3 separate regions of the Homo sapiens genome follow, and all the other regions are linked to region 3. Evidence: promoter capture Hi-C in 16 types of primary human blood cells and fetal thymus (Javierre and others, 2016). All regions are on one chromosome and are shown on one strand. The core of a region is centred on a gene start or on the middle of the fragment in contact, and the rest is flanking DNA. Distances in the headings are between cores, read along the strand shown.

The links. Contacts are between HindIII fragments. The CHiCAGO score rates a contact against its expected background, and 5 or more counts as called.
Region 1: the fragment with the promoter of ZCWPW2 here is called in contact with the fragment with the promoter of NR1D2 in region 3 in 1 of 17 cell types (neutrophils); the score reaches 5.7 in neutrophils.
Region 2: a contact is called between a fragment that was not itself captured here and the fragment with the promoter of NR1D2 in region 3, in 1 of 17 cell types (non-activated CD4 T cells). The highest score is 7.0, in non-activated CD4 T cells.

The regions. Positions count from the first base shown.
Region 1 is chr3:28,347,350-28,350,049 of GRCh38, reverse strand. ZCWPW2 (zinc finger CW-type and PWWP domain containing 2) reads right to left here and starts at 1,329. Exons shown (of 10, transcript NM_001040432.4): 1 at 847-1,329. It overlaps AZI2 (5-azacytidine induced 2), which reads left to right and starts at 1,226. Exons shown (of 8, transcript NM_022461.5): 1 at 1,226-1,449. RefSeq lists enhancers at 620-699, 738-1,032, 132-1,112, 1,300-1,359. The HindIII fragment of the contact is 7,230 bases long and covers 1-2,700 here.
Region 2 is chr3:19,942,042-19,944,741 of GRCh38, reverse strand. It overlaps a transcript of EFHB not described here and the pseudogene HSPA8P18. Among named protein-coding and RNA genes, the nearest start is that of RAB5A, 3.7 kb to the left of the region's middle. The HindIII fragment of the contact is 1,181 bases long and covers 697-1,877 here.
Region 3 is chr3:23,943,867-23,946,674 of GRCh38, reverse strand. It overlaps NR1D2 (nuclear receptor subfamily 1 group D member 2), which reads right to left and starts at 1,389. Exons shown (of 8, transcript NM_005126.5): 1 at 1,081-1,389. The coding sequence starts at 1,096. It overlaps LOC124909354 (a long non-coding RNA gene), which reads left to right and starts at 1,495. Exons shown (of 2, transcript XR_007095845.1): 1 at 1,495-2,808. It also overlaps a transcript of NKIRAS1 not described here. RefSeq lists silencers at 298-839, 336-1,525. The HindIII fragment of the contact is 14,696 bases long and covers 1-2,808 here.

The DNA of each region.
Region 1 (2,700 bases), core at 80-2,579, 4.4 Mb before region 3:
TTCTCAACGATAACATTAACACAGATTTCTAAGTATTTTTAGAAATGTCATAAAACTTCAACTTGTGGTCTTTGTTCCTAACAGCTATAAATTTTCACTTAAATCTAAACCAAAAAAGACAATAAAAAAACCAACAACAATAAAAACGAATTTTCATATAAACCCTTGAGTGAAATCCATCCTATTGGGCTGACAGTTGGGCTGATAGTTAAGCGGACAGATGACAAAATACTACTTTAAGGGGGTGGTGAGTAATGTCCGTATTGCTAATCGGCGGTTAGTGACGTTAAATTTTCTATAATTATTGTTCCTTGTTTATTTGTTTATTTAACCAATAATACCTTAGAGTTACAGGGGTTCCACCTGGCTGCGACCTTCAATGACTAATTAATTCAACTACTTGTGACTCCACAGCTAGGGACGGTCTATCATCTAGAAATAACCAAGGTGGTGGCAACTCCAGGGAAGCCGGGCGCAACTCCAGTACTCTGGCATCTTCTCCCTGTCTCTCATTCCATAAATTGAGCAGTGTGCTAGAAGTCGTGGTGTCGTTTGTGAATAATTACAGACCCCTACGCAATTCGTCGAGCTTGTGCCTCAAGTGATCGCCTGAGGGCTTGCAAGTAGTTTAGAAAACAGAGGCTACAGAGGAACGGCTTCTAACAGACTTCCCAGTTCCCAGCCACGTCAGCTCGTAAGCCTGTAACAGCGCTACTGAGCCGAGCCAGCACGCACCACACGGCCCGGGGACCCCCCAAAAGGACACTGAGTGAAAAAGACGCACCAGAGGGCGCCCCTGAAGGGGGACCTCGGCCCAACAGACAAGACGGCTGGTAACGCTCTTACCTAACTCCACTCCGCCTCCGCCTCCTGGCGTCCCGCGGCCCCGCCCCGTCCCGCCGCGGAGGCTCACGGGACATGTAGTACGCCGCGCGCCACTCCTGCACTTCCCCACCCCCACGACCGAACCTGGCTTCGCTAACGCCCTCCCAGCTCCCTCGGGCCTGACTTCCGGTTTCCTCGCGCGTCCCTGGCGCCGAGCCCGCGGACAGCGGCAGCCCCTTTTCCGGCTGAGAGCTCATCCACACTTCCAATCACTTTCCGGAGTGCTTCCCCTCCCTCCGGCCCGTGCTGGTCCCGACGGCGGGCCTGGGTCTCGCGCGCGTATTGCTGGGTAACGGGCCTTCTCTCGCGTCGGCCCGGCCCCTCCTGCCTCGGCTCGTCCCTCCTTCCAGAACGTCCCGGGCTCCTGCCGAGTCAGAAGAAATGGGACTCCCTCCGCGACGTGCCCGGAGCAGCTCCCTTCGCTGTGGAAGCGGCGGTGTCTTCGAAGAAACCGGAAGCCCGTGGTGACCCCTGGCGACCCGGTTTGTTTTCGGTCCGTTTCCAAACACTAAGGAATCGAAACTCGGCGGCCTTGGGGGCGGCCCTACGTAGCCTGGCTTCTGGGTGAGTGACTCGCCAGGGACGGGTGGAGGATAGGGATGCGGGCAATGCCGCGGCCAACCTCCGTAGCTGTTGCCGGTCCAAAAAGACACGTCATTTTTTTCTCACTCCCTCCCGCGCCCCCTCCTTTGACTAGGGAGCGGCCCACTCCTGGGCATCCCTTTCCCCAGTCACCCCCACACCCAGCTGTCCACACCCTTTCCCCTGTCACCCTCACCCCCAGCTGTCCAGGCCCTTCTTGGTCATTCACTTCTCTAATTACTCCTTTTCTTTTCGTACTCTTACTGGGGCGCCTTCAGTTTTTTTTCATTCATTGAGACTGCTAAATGCTTCTTTCCGATACAAATTATCGGAAAGAAAAGAGGGACATTGGCTAGGACGGTACTCCCTGGGGCATCTGAGTGGTGAATATCGACCCCCTGCACTTGATCGAGGGCTAACAGGTATTCGTCGTTTCTCCAATGTCTAACCTGTATACGGTATTCATTCCAGCCTTCGGCTGTTTGTTGAGTAACTACTACTACGTGCAAGGTAGGCTGACACCCTCTACACAAAAGAAACCCCAATACTCGAAAGCGAGATAAAATACCCACGAAAACTCTAGTACAAATCAAACCATCAGTTGCTCCAAGAGGTGATGGAAATTTGCTAAGGTGATCAAAGACAGACGTACCAGAATTAAAATTGACCCTTGCGCCTTATGTGTAGAAGACATTTTGGTTTTTAGATTGGAATTTCAAATTGGATTGAGCAAGATCTCAAGGCAGAATTTCATTTCTCTAAAAACGCCATATCTCATTGCCCAATCTTGTGATCATTTCATCATCTGTAAATTGAGAACAGTGCATCCTTTACAGGATATTTCCAAATTTTAATGTGATATTGTTTGTAAGCCAGACATCTTACGCAAGTAGAAGGTTTTAATATTAAAGAGACAGCATAACATAATGGGAAATGACACTGGATTAGGTCAGAACACCAGTATCTGAATGCTGATTTTTCCATTTACTTGACAATGGGTAAGAGGCTAAACTTTTTCTTCATTTTCCTTATCTCTGAAATGGGTGTAATACATACTCTAAGGCACCAAAGCATAGTTTCTAAGAGTTATGCTGGCTCTGGAGTCAGCTGCCTGATTTTCATTTCTGGCTCCCCTACTTTCTAATGTTTTCATGTCTCAATTTCTCCACCTGTAATCTGAGGAGATTCTTTACAACCTCAGAGGTATTACATAGATTTACTGAATGCTTATGA
Region 2 (2,700 bases), core at 38-2,537, 4.0 Mb after region 3:
AAAAAACTCCCTATTTCATCGTTCCAGTATGTTGCTTCTTCACTCGTTCCTGTTTAGTGATTTTGTCTTCACCTCCTTCATGAATACTTTTCACAATATTTTACAGTTTAGTCATAATGTTTGCCTGGAAGAGTGCTGCCCTGGTGGCTGGCATTTCTAAAGATCCGGTAGTAGTTTTAGAGAAATTGAAATGACACAGTAAAGCTCTGTTGTTTTATTGCCACTTGCAATATGCCTATGTTTTCTTTTTCATAGCCCCAGATAACTGAGGAGGACTGATAATTGTATATATTTTAGTGTCAAATGTGGAGTCCTACCAGTTGATAGAACTTGTTAAGGAAGGTACAAAATGGATAAATAATCATGAAGACTTAAACACTGTCTTTGATGCTTATACTGCCCTCAAATCTCTAAATACTCAATAACAAATTCCCAGTGGCAGGTGTCTCTCTACCATTCACAGGATCCCATAACCTTTTCCTTCTCTTCCAGGAAATCTGTCCTCCCTTGTGTAGCTAAAGAATGAATCTTTGCATAGATGATAATGAATGGTTACATTTACTTTTAACTGGAACTGTCTGGAGACAATTCAAAATTTTTCCTGGAGACAAACCAACGGTAACTCTAACATTGGCGTAGTAGCAAGTCAGTGAATAAAAGGCTGTGAAAACTTAAGCTAGTCATGTTTCAAAAGCTTGTGTCTTTGGAGGGCATCATTCAGGCTTCAGCTCAAATGTCATCTACCTAAGGGACTTCTAAGCCCACTAATTCTAAATGCTTTGTTACATATCGAAGTAGTCTGTTGTCTTCATAACAGCACTGTTTGATATGATATTATGCATTGTCTTCATAACACTTAGCACCATTTGATATGATATTACGCATCGTTCCACTTAATGGTTATCTATCCCTACTAGAATATAAGCTCCATGAGATAGGGGTTGGGTTATACAGTCAGTCCATCTGCTTGTGATTGGTTCTTGGACACTCCCTTATTCCCCCACCATATGGGTACCAAAATTTGCAGATGCTCTAGTCTCATGTAAAATGGTGTAGTATTTGCATGTAGGCTATTCTGTATGCTTTAAATCATCTTCAGATTACTTACAATAAGTAATACAATGTAAATGATATGTAAATAGTTGTATTTTTTTAATTTGTATTATTTTGTGTTTTTTTCATTTTTTAACTCAAATACTTTCGATGGAATACAGAGGGCTAACTGTATTCCCAACACTGACACAAAATAGGGAGGGACTCAATACCTGTTTGTAGAATGAATGAATGAATTGAATGAGCCCTTACCTGGATTTACATACTGCAAAGTCATTTGAAGAATTTATGGGGATTTATTGAATGCTGTGGCCACTTTTGGGGTTCCTATGTCTTTCTTCAGAATCCAATCCGGCCTACATGCAAACAACCCTGTTTAAAGGACCTGCAGTTGGTATTCATCTTGGCACCATCTACTCTTGTGTGGGTGTTTTCCAGCATGTAAAAATAGAGGTAATTGCCAATGATCAGGGAAATTGAATCACTCCAAGCTATGTCACCTTTACTGATACTGAACAATTGCTCAGTGATGCCACAAAGAATCAAGTTGCAATGAACCCCATGAACACAGTTTTTGATGCCAAATCTGATTGCTGATTGGACACAGACTTGATTATGCTGTTGTCCAGTCTGATATGAAGCATTGGCCCTTCATGGTAGTGAATAATGTTGGCAGGCCCAAGGTCCAAGTAGAATACAAGGGAGAGATAAAAAAAACTTCTGTCCAGAAAGGTGTCCTCTAGGGCCATGGACTGGTACTGGACTGTGGCCTGTTAGGAACTGGCTGCCCAGCAGGAGGTGAGTGGCAGCAAGTCAGTGAAGCTTCATCTGTATTTACAGCTGCTCCCCATCATTCACATTACCACCTGAGCTCCCCCTCCTGTCAGATCAGTGGCAGCATTAGATTCTCATAGGAGTGTGAACTCTATTGTGAATTGCACACACAAGGGATCTAGCACTTCTTATGACAATCTAATGCCTGATGATCTGTCACTCTCTTCCATCACCTCCAGATGGGACCGTCTAGTGGCAGGAAAACAAGTTCAGGGCTCCTACTGATTGTACATTATGGTGAGTTATATAATTATTTCATTATATATTACAATGTAATAATAATATAAAGTGCACAATAAATGTAATGTGCTTGAATTGTCCTAAAACTATCTTCCCCCGATCCTACCCCCTGCAACTTGGTCTGTGGAAAAATTGTCTTCCATGAAACTGGTCCCTGGTGCCAAAAAGGTTGGGGACAGCTGCTCTGTTATTCTGACAAAGATGAAGGAAATGGCAGAAGCCTACCTTGGAAAGAGTGTTACCAATGCTGTGGTCACAATATCAGCTTGGTTTAATGATTCTCAGCATCAAAGCTACCAAAGATGCTGGAACTATTGCTTATCTCAATGTACTGAGAATTATCAATGAGCTAACTGCTGCTTCTATTGCTTATGCCTTAGGCAAAAGGTTGGAGCTCAATGAAATGTGCTGATCTTTGACCTTAGAAGTGGTACTTTTAAATTTTTATTTATTTATTTTCTTGAGATGGATTCTCGCTCTGTCACCCAGGCTGGAGTGGTGCGATCTCGGCTCACTGCAATCTCTGCCTCCCAGGTTCAAGTGATTCTCCTGCCTCAGCCTCCTGAGTAGTTA
Region 3 (2,808 bases), core at 140-2,639:
TGTTGGAGTCACCTATGATCACCTGAGTCATCCTGACCATACGTGAGCTGCACGCTCAGCTGCGGGTGTGACCCGTTTACTGGAAAACTCCAGCCCGAAGGGATCTGGAAGCAGTTTTTAAGACTGTGTGTGTATGAGACAGGTCGCGTCCTAGAGCAAACGGTTTTTTTTGTAAACAGACGGCATCCTAACAGGGGCGGTGCTACCCAGTCTGCGGGGAGTCGCTCGGGATCGAAGCACCTCAGAGCTCCTTCGAGCGTATCCCTTCGGGAAAGCCCCACGCCTTCCCCGAGGCGCCTCCTCCGGCCTGCAGCACGCCCTCGTCCTGCACTTCCTCCTCGGAATCTGCAAGGTATGCAGCTACCAGCCTCCCCAGGCGCCGGTTCGTTTGGTTTGCGCGGGGTCCGCGCCTTGGGGTCACCTCGCGAAAAGAGCGTGCGGCGTCCGGTGCACTGCGGTGTCAGCGCCCGCTTCGGGGACGCCCCGCCGCGGGGGCTCAGCGGGCGCGCACGCGCGGCCTCCTCCGCAGTGTGCAACCCCGCGGGGGAGGAGGGAATCGCGGCGACGTCACTGCCCCGAGGCTTCCAAAGGGGCGGAGCCTCCCGGGAGGCTGCGGCGCTCCCAGCCAGCGCGCGCGCGCGCGCCCCCGCCCCCACGTGTCCCTGCGGCCCCGGGGAATGTGGGTCAGGGAGCCGAGCGGCCTCACGTGTCCCCGCCCGCCGCCGCCGCCTCAGCGCCCATTATGTAATGCCGCGTCACGCGCCCGCCCAGCCAACCGGCGCCCGCGCGCCGCCGAACGTAAACACAGCGCGCACGTGGCTCGCGCGGCCGGGCCATGTGAGGGGGGGGCCGGGCCGGGCGCCGGCAGGCCGCGCTGCGGCTTTGCAGGGAGACAAGAGGGCGGGCGCCGGGCGGCCCGGGGGGCGATGGGAACCGAGCCAGAGGCGGACACGCGGCGCGCAGCAGCCCACCCCGCCCCACCGGCCATGGGGACACCCCCTGCCGCCGCCCCCCAAAGTGCCCCGCGGGCTCTGAGCGCTCCCTCCGGCCATCCCCCACCCGCCGCAGTCCGGTTCTTACCTGCATTCACCTCCATGGTGCCCTCGCGGAGGCGGCCGGGGCCGCCCGCTTCCCGCAGAGGGGGCAGCGCCGCCGCCGCCGCCTCAGCGCCGCGCCGCCCCGGGCTGGAAGCAGCGGTGGTCGCGGGGCCCCCTCATGGGCAGAGCGGGCGGGGCTCCCGGGCCCCAGGCCGTGCAGCGCACAGCAGGCTGCAGCGAGAGAGGGTGGCGGCGGCCGGCGAGCGGCGCTCCTCGCTGGGTCCCTGACAACAAAAGCGGCGGCGCGGCGGCTTCCTGCAGCCAGCGCACCGCGGCGGCGAGGGCGGCTGACGGGGAGGGCAGCCGCGACCATGTGACCCGCGCACACACCCCCTCCCTCCGCCCGCCCTCGGCCGGCCGCTGCGGCGACCTCCGCCCCGCCGCTCCCCTCCCTCCCGCCCGCTTCCCGGCTCCCCGGCTACCCTTTTCTCCTGCGCTTCCCCCTTCTCCCCTTCCTTCTCCTTGCCGAGCCCCTCCTCTTCCTTCGTTTTTCCCCTCCGTGCCGTAAACCTCTTCTCCGTTTCCCTCCGCCGCATATTCCTCCCCTCCTCCTCCTCTTTCCTCTCCTCCCGGCTGCCTTTCCCGCCTCTGGCCGGGAGTCCTCTCCACGCCCTGCCCCCCAACCTGGTGGCTCTTAGGTCAAAGCGGTGGCTTGGCGCCGAGCAAGGGTGATTCTCAGGACCCCGGCTGGGCCGGCTGGTTCGGGCTTGCTCAACCCTTGCGCCCCCCACCCCCACCCCCCGCTCCCACCCGACCGACCTCCAAACGCTGGTCTCTGAGGGCACAGACCCTTCCCTTTCCCTCTGCACCCTCTAGGTGATTTTATCCAATCTCATAGCTTAAGTAGACCTATGTTCTTGTGATTCCCAGATTTATATTTCAAGCCAAGACCTCTCTTCTAATCTCCAGATTCCTACATCCAGCAGCCCGTTTGATTATGCCGCTTTTTTGCATCTCAGATTTTAGACGGGTGTACGCGTGTGTCCGAACTCAGCTAATGTGCAGTCAAGATCTGGGCGTTTCACCTTGAATGTAAATTTTAGATCAAAAGAAAAAAGCTAGACATAAATTGTATGCGTGCTGAGGTGAATTCTGAGGAAAGTGCATTGATGCCCGCAATTTAAACGCATTACTGAAGTAAGATGGGCTGATAGAGGCATGAATAGATGATATGGTAAGATGTTAAACTTAGGCGATGGGGATATGGGTGTTGCTTGTAAAACTCTTTCCAGTTTGCTCTGAAATTCTTCACTATAGAAGGTGGGGAAAATGTCACGTGGAAGACATATTTACATGTGCAACACCCTATTTCCCCACCCCCCAGGTTTCTTCACCATATCAATATTTACTGTTTTGGTAAATCTGCAAGTTCCTGAAGCCAGCAAAATTATGTTTCTCTCCTAACACTCTCACAGCCTTTTATTCTCCATTCAATCCATTAGCAAGTCTGAGCTATTCTACCTTCAAAATATGTTCAATCCCTGTTTCTCACCGTTGGTATTGCTAGAGCAAACCATTATCTCTTGCCTCAGCTACTGCTCTGGTTCCCTAACTAGGAGAGTGCTTCTTGGGTCCTCCTACAGTCACTTCTCCCCAGCAGTCAAAGTATTATTTTTAAAATGTAAATAAGATCTGATTACTCTGCTGAAAACCCTCCAATGGCTTCGTGTTACACTTTGAAAAAATTCAACGACTTAACCTGACCTGCTTC